Linked DNA regions of Homo sapiens: regions 2 and 3 are each linked to region 1. The links are contacts of gene promoters, found by promoter capture Hi-C in blood cells and fetal thymus (Javierre and others, 2016). All regions are on one chromosome and are shown on one strand. The core of a region is centred on a gene start or on the middle of the fragment in contact, and the rest is flanking DNA. Distances in the headings are between cores, read along the strand shown. Region 1 holds the start of PEBP4-AS1 (PEBP4 antisense RNA 1). Region 2 overlaps BIN3 (bridging integrator 3). Region 3 overlaps BIN3 (bridging integrator 3).

The links. Contacts are between HindIII fragments. The CHiCAGO score rates a contact against its expected background, and 5 or more counts as called.
Region 2: a contact is called between a fragment that was not itself captured here and the fragment with the promoter of PEBP4-AS1 in region 1, in 6 of 17 cell types (M1 macrophages, M0 macrophages, megakaryocytes and 3 more). The highest score is 7.8, in M1 macrophages.
Region 3: a contact is called between a fragment that was not itself captured here and the fragment with the promoter of PEBP4-AS1 in region 1, in 6 of 17 cell types (endothelial precursors, M2 macrophages, M1 macrophages and 3 more). The highest score is 9.8, in endothelial precursors.

What each region holds. Positions count from the first base shown.
Region 1 is chr8:22,875,676-22,879,772 of GRCh38, reverse strand. PEBP4-AS1 (PEBP4 antisense RNA 1) reads right to left here and starts at 1,801. Exons shown (of 4, transcript NR_125433.1): 1 at 1,622-1,801. The region is part of intron 3 of PEBP4 (phosphatidylethanolamine binding protein 4); the gene reads left to right. RefSeq lists a silencer at 2,149-2,218. The HindIII fragment of the contact is 10,906 bases long and covers 1-4,097 here.
Region 2 is chr8:22,662,354-22,666,294 of GRCh38, reverse strand. All of the region lies in intron 1 of BIN3 (bridging integrator 3), which reads left to right. Among named protein-coding and RNA genes, the nearest start is that of BIN3, 4.8 kb to the left of the region's middle. The HindIII fragment of the contact is 230 bases long and covers 1,892-2,121 here.
Region 3 is chr8:22,645,332-22,649,688 of GRCh38, reverse strand. The region is part of intron 1 of BIN3 (bridging integrator 3); the gene reads left to right. Among named protein-coding and RNA genes, the nearest start is that of BIN3-IT1, 5.3 kb to the right of the region's middle. The HindIII fragment of the contact is 5,709 bases long and covers 1-4,357 here.

The sequences.
Region 1 (4,097 bases), core at 552-3,051:
TGCAGATGTTTGTTGAATTACACAGTTTTATTTTCAAGCGTGTGTGTGCCTTAAGGCCTGAAATCACACCTCCCCCGGTGTGAAGCACCCCTGGGCAGGCTCCCTGTCCTCCCCGACCCTCGACCCTCGTGGGATAACGTGGTGACAATAGCCCGGTGGTAGTCCTGGCTCTGCCTCCAATTAGCTATATGGGAATGAGCCTGTGATCTATCCTATCTGGACCTCAGTTGCTTCTGTAGATTGAAGAGCTGGAATTGGAAAATCTCAAGGTTCTTTCCCTCTTTTGATGTTTCTTGGAGTCAACATTCCTTTTGAGAGGTGTTCTTCTCTCCCCACTGGCTTGAAATCTCATCTCTGCTACTCACCAATTCATGCGTTCACAAGACGTTTACTGAGTGCCCTTTTTTCGGCAGGTCCCATTGTGAGGCTTGAAAGTACAAGGGTGACTAAGATATAGTTCCCACCTCTGGGGCGCTCACGGCCTGGTGGGATAGGCAGTCCAGAAGCAGACATGTCGCAATGCAATATGTTGAGTGCTGTTCTGTCAACATTGAGAGCGTTGAGGCCACACTCTCGTTCTGTGGCCTCACACAGATCAGTTAAACCTCCATGTCTGGTCTTCATCGTCACTGGGGATATTTGCTTCCCTTCCTAGCTGAGATCTATTCACTGTGAGTGGGCTCTGAGATGAGATTAGGATAGAGCATAGTAAAATGTTTCCCATGGGGAAGGGCTTGTCCTCTCTTTCAGTCTCTAAAGAGATGAAGGAACACAGAGGAGATACCACCCGCCCCATAGCCACGCTAAGCTGGGAACAAGAACTATAATTTTTAGCTCATCCCCCTACCCGGTGCTCTGTGATAAGAAACCAGCCCAACATCATTCTGGATGCCCTCTTCCAGCCTCCAGGGTCTGCCCGTGGTGGCTTAACTGTGATGACAGTTAAAATGCAAGAATACTTTCAAAAGGAGGGCTATTTTCCCCTTGGCATCCAGCTTGGCCTAGACATCCAGTTTGCTCTCTGTTCCCTGAGCTCCAAGCCTCCTCTCTGATGAAGCCAGGGAATGCACCCCTGTTTGGAGATCCTGTGCTCTGCCGACTTGCTCAGGCTGGCCAGTAGCAGAGTCCGAGTGAGCATCCCAGAGGAAGGAGGCCAGAGTACCCAAACCCAGAGGTGCCAGGCCCGGAGAGGGAAGCCCTCCCCACCTGTCTGCGCTTTGTGATTAGATATGAGCAATAGGGTAACTCACAGGCAGCAATCTCAGTCACTTGGTGTGTCAGGTAAACTGACGGGCAGAAAAGTGAGAAAGCACCACTTGGAAACCCAAGGCCACTGCCACACGGCCGGGTCCTGCCACCTCTCAGAGCCCTCCCACTGAGCATGCACTGACCCTCCACCCTCTCCCGCAGAGCCCATGCTGGTCTGACCTGCAGGATGTGTTTTCCGTAGAGGCCCCCAAATACCATCTTACCAGGCCAGTCCCCTACTATATTCTCTAACCTTAAATTCCAGGGATTCCGCCCCTCCCTCCCTCCCTCCCTCCCTCTCCCCCTCCCTCTCCATGCTCACCCTCCACCCCCTTTCCCTCAGGAGCTGCTCCTGTACCTGGAGTAGATTCACCTGCAAACACTCAGCTTGCAGGAGCACAGCAGACTGGGGAGTTTCCTTTCCCAGCCAAGCTGAGTTTGGAGGGGGGTGTGGGAGGAGGTGGGGAGGGCTGGGGACACAGGTTGAGTCTCTAAAGAATGAGGACTGCATTGCCTTCTTCCCTGCCTCCTGGTTACAGCTGAGAAAGTAACCAACTTCGTGTGTGTCTGTGTGTGTGTGTGTGTGTCTGCGCACGCGTGTGCAGTGTATGGATGCACAGACGGCCCCTCCATGGTGGGGTGGGGAGCCGTTCTCTCACCCTGCAGCTTTCTGCCTCTCCCTCCACCCTCCTCCGACTCCCTGCGTCCCACACTGCAGGTGTCTCTGAGGCAGTGTTTATGTAAGCAGCTCATGTTCTGCCGAGCGACAGCGAGAAGCTGTTGTCAATTCGAGGAAAGCCCCCGGCTGCCCACATGTGTGGTTGTCCCCGTGGGTTTCATAACAGGAGGGGGAGGTGGGGAGGTGGGGTGGTGGGCCCCTGGGGTGAGGGTGGCTGGGCTCAGCCCAGCCCAGGAGCCTCCTCCCCGCTGCCAACAGTGAGCCCGCCCGTGTGTTCACAAGCTGCTGGCCTCACCTCCTCTCCTCCCAGCTAGTTTCCCAGCCATTTGGCTACGGAGAGACAAAGTCAGTGCCTCCTGGCTCTGGCTGGCTCTGCCCAAGAATGTAGTACTTGGGTCGTGCTGGGCTACTGGAGTCAGGGCAAATAACCTGACATTTTGAAGGCACAAAAGTCCCAAGGACCTGCCAACCAACCAGGAGGTTGGTTTGATTCTGACCTCAGAATCAAAACATGGACCTGACGTTTTGATTCACAATAAGGACACGTAGCCCCATCATCTTTCTATTCCAAAGTCAGCTGTCCTCACCTGGACAACTGAGGACAGGGAGAGACTGGACAAAAAGGGCTCTTAGCCATTACAGTAGAAATGGCTGGGACACCTTATCCCTGAGGCTGAGGGCTGTTTGAGGATTCCCATTCAGCACAGCCTGGTTTGAGGAGGAAAGAAAAGACCAAAACATGGTGTCCACTTGATATGTTTATAAGGGTGGAATAAACTCCCTGAAACCCAAATCATAATTCAAATAGCTAATATATATGGAGTGCTTTTCTGATCCAAGCATCATGCTATGAAATGTACATTTCAGTCCTGGCAAAGACTTAATGAAGGAGGCACTATTAGCCTCATTTTAAAGATAAGGGTCCAAGGCCCAGAGAGGTTGAATAACTAGTCCAGCCTCACACAGCAGTTAAGGGAGAGGTTCTCCTTTCTACCCTGAACATTAACAGAAATGTGTTTACATTTTCTGGCTAACCAAGCCAGATTTTGGCTTTGCTCCAAGGAAGCTAATGTCCCACCTGAGAAGTAGCTTTGTTTAAACAGTGGAGAAAATAATTCCTAACTCATTTATTTACTTCTAATTTTACACTTCAAGTGCTGTTTATTTTCACAACAACACAAGCGCTATAAACATACACTGTCATCGATGAAGCACGTTTGTGAGGTGCCCCTGGGCTGCAAGTTGAGGTAGAGACAGAACATGTCATCACTGGTAGTGCCTTCATCACTGGATGGTGACCTCTCTCCTGAGTTTCTTGCTTTTCAAGTGCTCCCAAGTATTGTCCTGCCAACCCTCTCCTGGAATGAGGCCAAAAAGAAAATCCTGAGCACTGGAAGAATACGCTGGATACTGTCTCTTCTGGGTGGTTCATCCTTTCAGTCCTTCAACACACACTGGATGCTGTTAATTTCACCATGGGCCGTATGCACTGGTGATGCAGAAAGTGCTGAGATCTGATCTCCACCCTAGAGGAGGCTGGCAGAGCCAGTAGACACGCCACCGTTGTACGCATGGTACGTGTTAGCAGCTGCGGTAATAAGGGAAGAAGTGGTTGCAAAACAGGTGACATCTGTCGGCCAGGCCCAGTGGCTCACACCTGTAATCCCAGCACTTTGGGAGGCTGAGGCTGGTGTATCACTTGAGGCCCGGAGTTCTAGACCAGCCTGGGCAACATGGCGAAACCCCATTTCTACTAAAAGTACCAAAATAAGTCATGTGTGGTGGTGCATACCTGTAATCCCAGCTTACTCCAGTGGCTGAAGTGCAAGAATCACTTGAACCTGGAAGGCTGAGGTTGCAGTGAGCCAAGATCACACTACTGCACTTCAGCCTGGGCGACAGAGTGAGAGTCTGCCTCAGAAAAAAAAGAACAGGTGACATCTGAGCAGAATCTTGAAGCTAAAAATTCTAAATCTAGAAAGAGCATTGCCGGTAGAAGGAAGACTCAATGCAATACCAAGATCTGGAAAGACCAGGGTGCAAGTAGAAGTGTGGCTTGAGACTTCGCCGGGTTTCTGGACAGTGCGGGTGGGTGACGTGCTGGGTGACAGGCAGGAAGGGTAGGCTGGGGCCAGTTTGTGAAAGCCTTGGGGACTGGAACTAGACAACC
Region 2 (3,941 bases), core at 757-3,256, 210 kb after region 1:
TCTTCCCCATCTTCCAGTGTATACTCAGGTGGCTTTATTATGGTATGGAGAGAGGATTAAGTAGAATTAAGAATAGTGACCTCAATCTAAGCTGGCTCCAGGAATTGTAGCCTCCTGTTGAACCATACACCTTGATGATTTTAGGCTTAAACGAGGAGGAAAAGGGAGTACTGGAAGAAATCTCCCTATACCTAGGGGTCCAGTAGTTTGACAAAAAGGAAGGAAATTAGAGGCAGAGCAGGTAAGTGTGAGTAGGAGTTAGAGTGCTGCGTTCAGGTTCTGGCTCAGCCACTCACAGTGCGGCCTGGTCAAGCATTGAGCTGTTCTCTGTCTTAGTTTCTCCATCTGTAGCATGGAGTGGCCATTCCTGCTGACAATTTGCCACCTGAGCCTGCTGTGAAATGAGTGGAGTGATATTTTTCTGACTCTTCCGGGGTCTTCTACCTCTGTCTGCCCTTCACACTTTGGTGTTCCTCATGTTTGATCCTTTTTGTTTCTTTCCTGTTTTCACCCTGTAGTCCCTTGCCATCATCTTCAGGATAGAGGCCCAACTCTGGGCCAGGGCTTCTGAGGCCCTCTGGGCCTGGCTGTCCATCTTCACTCCGTGTGTTCCATCCTCCAAGCTTCTCCTGCTCTCTCGTGCCCATGTGCCTCTGGATAACTGTCCCTTCTGCCTGAAATGTTTCCCCTTCACTCACACCCTGTCCACTAGGCCAGCATCTACTCATCCTTCAAGAGTCAGGCCACGCTTCACCTTCTCTGAGGGTCTTCCCTGAGTGGCCCCTCACACCCTGCCATGCTGCACTGGGTGCCGCTCTTCTGACCTTCATCAGCATCTGTACTCCGCTGGCTGGTTTACTTGTCTGTGAGTTCTTGAGTATGGGGACTGTCTTGTGGTCATTGCTATTCCCTAGCACTGTTCCTGGCAGTCAGGAAGTGTTTATTAAATATATGAATGGGGCCTTTTTTCCCTTTTCCTGACTTGCCTCAGCTCAGGAAAAATGTTAAGATAAAAACTTGCAGAACCTACAAACCACTTCCTAAAATGAAGAGCCTCTGAAAGTACTATTGTTAAATTGACCGACACAAGTGGCTTCCAGGTCAGGCTGCCTGTGATTTCTCCTCCCCACTCCTTCTGATCCTCCACTCCAAAGTGCTTTGCTGGGTTTCTTCTGTACTTCCATAGTGCTTCTCCTGTAGCACTTCTGCATCCTTCTGAGTATCACAGACGTACACCTCCCTTCCACACCAACCCCATGAGAACAGGAGCGACATAGAGCTTCTTCATCTTTTTGTACGCATAGTGGGTATCATGCACATAGTGGGTATCTAACAGGTAATTGTTAAATGAATGGAATATAAAGAAGGTAAACTTCTGGGTCAAACAAAACCATTATTCAGTTTTTTTCTCAGTGAAGTCCTTTCCCCTATGATTACCGTTGCTGTCTCACATGTGTAGAGTGCTTCTAACTTTTCAGATGGCTTTCCCGTCCTTTGTCTGACTTCATGCTTATGTCTGCGCAAGCAGTGCAGTCTTATGATCCCCCTTGGTAACTTACTAGAATTCACTCAGCTAGTACCTGGAAGAACTAGAACTAAAATGTGTCTCCTGAGTATTCTGTCCCCATGATCAGGAATATTAGAAGAGTAGCAGACCATTCCCAAGCTGATTGGATCACGGAGTTTCACTTTGCTAAGGTGTGTTGACACTAGCAGGTTGGTAGTGAATCACAGGGAGTTGACAGTCTTCACACATAAGTGATAGAGGAAGTCCTTGTGTCCTGCAGACCTCTAGGTGTTCTGTAACTGGCTCAGCTTCTTCCACCTATGGGGCCCCTGCCTAAGGCAGCCTCATCACTCATGTCCTCTGTGACTTTGGACACACCAAGCTTTTCTTCCTCTGTGGAGAGCATAGTAATGCCTTGAAGACAGGGGCCCTATAAAATGTCTGTGAGATTCTGTATGTGAGCTTGCTCTTATTTCAGGCGTTTAATGAGAGGAGAAGGATTTCTTCCAGATCTTGGAGCAGTCAGAAAGAGTCAAGTGTCTTGAGTCCCACAGCTACTTAGTCAGAGGTGTTATATGTATTATACTCTTTAAGGAAATCTGTCGGAGTAAGCTTTAGAGTCAGCTGTTAAACCTATTAGAATTGTTTTCCCAAACTCATGATTTTGGTGGCTAATCCATCAAATAGGGCCCAGTATAGTGTGATGCACATACATGGTGCTCAACAAATATTTGTTGATTTAATGCTTGTTCAACATTTATAATGTGCAAAAGTCTGTGCTAAATGTTGAGGAACATTTAAAAGACTTGCATGAGTCGATCTCTATCTTCAGCCGGTGTATGGAAAGTGCTAGGGATTCAAAAGGACAGCCGATCACTAAATGTCAGTATGGCATCATCAAGAAAGACTTGAAGCAGATGTAATTTTAACTGAACCTTGACTTAGCAAATACGTGCTGTTTCAGTGGGAGGGAGAGAAGGATCCAGGTAAGAAGCATGGCATGAAAAAGGTGTGTGGAGTCAGAATGCGTCAAGAGTGTTTGTGCGGACTGTCAGGAGGCCAGCTTGGAGGTGGTAAGTAGTGGTTTGGGTAGAGGCTGCATTGGGGAGAATTGGCACTCCACCTCAGGGCCACGTTATATAGTGCTTTCAGTGCCATGCTGAGGACTTGAAATTGAGCCTAGGCTTTTGGAAATTGAAGGCTTTTGAGCAGGGAAGTGGCATGGCCAAAGCAATGATTTAGTCAGATTATTTTGGCAGTGGCCTGCAGGATAACTCAGAAGAGAAAAAATGGAGCCAAGGATGCTAACTTGGACAATAGTTTCCTTTTTTTTTTTTTTTTTTTTTTAAACAAATCGGGGGGTCTCACTGTTGCCCAGGCTGGAGTGCAGTAGTGCAATTACAGCTCACCACAGTCTCAAACTCCTGGGCCCAGGCAATCCTTCTGCCTTAGCCTCCTGAGTGGCTGGGACTATAAGTGTTAGCCACCACACCTGGACTAGTTTCCACAATTTTTTGAACACAACTCACAGTTAGAAATACCTTTGATATCACAACTCACACACACACACACACACACACTTATACTTGAAATAAAAGTTTGACACAGTATGTGTGCAATGCACTCTGATATTTTCTATTATGTTCTTGTTCATGGTTTTTCGTTTTTTGAGACAGGCTCTTGCCCTGTTGCCCAGGCTGGAGTGCAGTGGTGCCATCTCAGCTCACTGCAACCTCTACTTCCCGGGTTGAAGCGATTCTCGTGCCTCAGCCTCCCAGATAGCTGGGATTACAGGCATGCACCACCATTTTTTAGTAGAGACTGAGTTTCGCTATGTTAGCCAGGCTGGTTTCTAACCTCTGGATTCAAGTAATCCACCCGTCTTGGCCTCCCAAAGTGCTGGGATTACAAGCATGAGCCACCGCGGCCAGCCTTGTTTGTTTTTTTAAAGAATGACCCACCTCAGTTGACTTTTTTTTTCTTTTTTTCTTCCTGAGGTGAGTGCATATGATTTTTTAATTTCATGACTGATTTTGATCTATGTATATAATGGAAGACTGTGTAGCAGTTTAAATGACCTTTGAGTGATAGATGTTCTGCAAAGACCTCAAGTTTGAAAACCATCTGTCTAAGAGTATCATTACAAATACTCAGACGATAAGCTAACACCTTTGACTCCAGCAACTGAAGATAGGGTTACTTGTGTATTTGGTTGTTTCACTGGGTTAATAAAAAATAACAGAAGGGGCAGCTGTAAAGAACACTGGCTGAGTTCTTTATAAGAACTTATTCCATAGATTTGAAAACTGTCAATTGCTTTCCAGAAAAGAAAACCCAAGTGAACAAAAGCTCATGTAAAGATGTTTGGTCCTATTAGTAATCAGGAAAAACAGATTAAACCAACAATGAGATGCTGTTTCACAGCCATCAGACT
Region 3 (4,357 bases), core at 902-3,401, 230 kb after region 1:
GAAAGAAAAATGTGGAAAGTGCAAAGAAGAAAACAGTAATCATATTCTCACCACCCAGAATTAGCCACTACCAACATTTGGCATATTTGCTTCAGTTTTTCTTACTGTAAATTTAAAAAATATAAATAGCAACACTGAAACATTAACCTTGGCCATCTTTTAGATGCGGAATCGTGGCTGGGTTTTTCCCTCTCCTTTTCCTCCCTTATACCCCCACCCACCCCATCCCCTTTTATTTCTCAAGTGTTCTGCAATGAGCACGTTTTTCTGTAATAGTTGTTTTAAAGTTACTGTTTCTCGTGTGAATACTTTACTTTTTAAGGAGATAAACTGTAATTAACTGTAAAGGGTAGAATTTTTTAAATGCCAAATAAGTCTTTGACGTTTAGAAGAAGGTGAGAAGTTTTCCTGGGAGCAGAGAAAGCATTCCATATAGGTGGGGTAGCCATTTGTCCTGGTTGCCCTGGGCAGTCCAAGTTGTCCTGATGACGTGTACTCCAAAATGTCCCAGTTTGGGACAGGAAATTATAAGGAGTCTAGATTTGGGGGATTAATGAACAGCCACTTGGCTGAATCATGGCAGTTGTACTGAGTGAATAGGAAAAGTAAGGTTGAGAACATATTACAGAAGCACATTGAATACTAATGTAAGTTCCTCCACTGATTCTAGGGCTGAGGCAGGAAATGTACAAGATGCACTTGGTACATGTCGTAGAGCTGGAAAGTAAGGAAATACACACACACACTTACATACATACATACATACATACATACATACATACATACATACATACGTTGATGTGGATATGTCAAAGGGACACAGAAGCCAACTGAAAGAGCTGCCAGTGGTGAAAGCTGGAACAGTTTGAGCATCAAAATAATGTATTAGATTATAACCCAAAATATAAGATAAATATCTGTGAGTCCATACTGATATTGAATGGTTGAATAAATAAGAAATAGGATTCTGCATGATGGCTTCCTCCCAAGGAGTGCAGTAGGGAAAGGGAGAAGGGAGAGTAACTTCACAGTAGGAAGCTGAGAAAGATGACCTCAGCCTGGTGATCAAGGTTCACATCAGCAGGGTAAGGCATGTTGACATCGTGGACCCTGGGTATGATGTGGTGAGGATGGCTCTTCTGCTCTGTGATCTTCTACCCCAAAAGCCATAACTCCAGTCTAGTCAGGAGAAAAGCATCAGACAAGTCCAAGTTGGCATTCTGTAAAATGCCTGACCAGCACTTAAAACTGGCATGGTCATCAAAAGCAGGGAGAGATTTAGGAACTGTCACAGCCAAGCGGAGCCTCGGGGCACATAGTGACTGAAGGTGACGTGGGGACCTGGGTGGGATGCTGGAACTGAGAAAGGACATGGGGAAAACTGAGGAGGTCTGAAGAAAGGATAGTCTTGACTCTCACTGTTGGTTCATTGTTTGTGACCAATGTACCACACCAATATCAGATGTTAATAAAAGGGGAAACTGAGGGTGGGCAACATAGGAATTATGTACTTCCTTCACAATTTTTCTTTTCCTTTTTTTTTTTTTTTTTTGAGAGACGGAGTCTCACTCTGTCGCGCAGGCTGGAGTGTAGTGGCGCAATCTCGGCTCACTGCAAGCTCTGCCTCCCAGGCTCATGCCATTCTCCTGCCTCAGCCTCCTGAGTAGCTGGGACTACAGGTGCCCGCCACCATGCCCAGCTAATTTTTTTTTTTTGTATTTTTTATAGTAGAGACGGCGTTTCACCGTGTTAGCCAGGATGGTCTCGATCTCCCGACCTCGTGATTCACCCGCCTCGGCCTCCCAAAGTGCTGGGATTACAGGTGTGAGCCACCACGCCCGGCCTCACAGTTTTTCTTTAAAACTTTTTAAATGTGAAGGATTTTTTTAAAGTGTTCTAATAGGGCTTTTGAGCAGGTGAGTTGAAAAATAATCAGAACAGTATGATAGGTCTCTGTGATCATCAGTAACTGTGGTGAAAATACAAGGAAAGAGCTGTTCCGTCTGCGTGGTGTACATAACCTCTTATTGTGCCAGAGCACCCAGTTCAGCACGAACGTCCTCCCATTCACTTCCAGACCCTTAAGAACAATGAGCCCCTTGGAATTCTGTAGGACTTTGAGACTAGGTGTTTTCATCACATACTTATAACAAATTCATGTGAAAAGAGTATTGAACTGTGGGTAGCAGAGAGAAAACTGGGCTGGACACCAGGGGTGCTGGTTGCTTCTTCCTTGTTCTCTTGTGAGCCAGCAGAGTGACCCTGGGCTTGTCACTGAACCTTTCTGGATCTGCTTCCTCATCTACAAAAGGAGAGGGTTGAACTGGGGAAAAAATTTCTATGGTAACTTACAGTTCTAAAAATACCGTGATACTAAATTAAGGTTTAGAGGGAGGCTGTCACACCACAAATAATGGAATCTACGTTTCTGATTCTTGGTCCCTTGTCTACAGTACTAAACTCCAAGAATCGTTTTGAAGACCACTCTGAGACTTCTTTAGAATTCTCATCCTACTCCCCATATTCTTGGAGTGGAGATTCAGTTTAGAATTCCAGTTTTAGATAAGCTGAAGGGATTCCAACTCCTTTGTTTTATAGTTTAAGAAACTGGGCTCCAGAGAGATTGAGATTTGTTCAAATCACAAAATGAGTCGGAGGCAGAGGCCACGTTTTCTGATACCGGGTCGAGAGCGCTTTCAGCTGCAGCATGCTTCCCACAGAATACAGGCTGTCTGTCTGCAATGCCACTGGGACCTCATTTGCAATGTCTCCAGAGTGGTCCTTGCCACCAGGACCTCATTTGCACTGTCTCCAGAATGGTCCTTGAGGGCAATTGCTCACTGTCCAAAAACCATCCTGTCTGTCAGCTGTAATCCCTGAGAATGGGAAAAGTAACCAGGGTGTGGGGAAGGAACCCATCTCCCCGTGAACCTTTTCTGTTTAGGTCTGAGAAAGGAAGCAACAATTTCATTTTTTCTTTCCTTTTCATTTCCAGACCTTACCTTTCCTCCCTGGTTATTATGTAGTCAGAATTTATTTGTTTACAGAAGATGCGAATCAGCCAGCCCCCAAAGGGTTAACACTCCCAAATTATGGGGCTGGGTTAACAATAAACAGGATGTCCTCCAGAAATTAAATTTAAACCACTGTGACTCAGGCTGGCCCATCCCCTCCACTGGATCACTGTTTGGGGTCATTATCGGTGGTTAATTACACCCTTGGGTTTAGCAACAGTGTGTTGGTCAGTTTGGGCCAAAGGAAAGCAGGCTCAGGGAGAAGGGGGTGTGGAGGGAAGGGTGGGATGTGGGCCTGGTGGAGCGGGTCTGGTGCATTGTGGAAACGGGAGGTTTGAATGGAAGAGCCAAAAGGAGAGGGATGAGCATGGCTGGCTGAGAGCCCTCTGCCGGAGCTGATCGCAGGGATTCTTGACTCACTTCCTACCTGGGATCGGGAGTCTACCCTTTCCATAGCCATTGGGATGCACTTTCTAGCCTGGCCTCTTTTCTTCCTGGAGTTGGAGAATCATAGAATGCTCAGTGCCTCAAGGAAGCTCCTAAATTACCTAGTTTAATCTACTCGTTTTATGCAGCAGGAAATGGAGTCCCAGTGCAGCCGTCACCTGCCGAAGGGCAGCCTGCTCAGTGGAAGCGGAGGCCAGGCTAATGCTCAGGTTGAGACTCCTAGACCCATGATCCTCCTTCCGCTGTGCCATGCTGTAAAGTAGGGAATCTGAGGTGCAGCTCTTCATAGCAAGTCCAAGGCAGACTTGGGCTGGATTTCAGATTATTTTCCAAGTTAGCAGCTTTTTGATTTTGTGAGTTTTCCCAGGGAAATAATCCAGCCCGGCCAATCACTAATGCCTCTGTTATTTATTAACTCTCCCCAGCCTCCAAAGAAGATTTGCAGATCCAAAGTTTGCCCCTCTATAGAGAAGTAGCAAAGCACCTAATATAGACCATAATGATTCGTGATTTCAAGGATGATAGCTATTACAGTGAGTCTGTAATTTCTGAGTTTGCACCTCCTCAAGACACAAGGTTTTATTGTCATTCACAGGGTGTCTTCCCTTTCCTGCCATCCTCGCGGGTGTCTTCCCTTTCCTGCCATCCTCGCCTTTCCTCTCTTCCCCTTTCCTTTCCTTTCCTTTCCTTTCCTCCCCCTCCCCTTCCCCTTTCTTCCCTTCTGTTCCCTTCCTTTATCTCTTTAAAAGACAGGGTCTCCCTCTGTTGCCCAGGCTAGGGTGCAGTGGTATGATCATAATTCACTGCAGCCTCAAACTCCTGGGCTTAAGTGATCCTCCTGCTTCAGCCTCTCAAGTGACTGGGACTACAGGCATGTGCCACCACGCCCGGCTAAT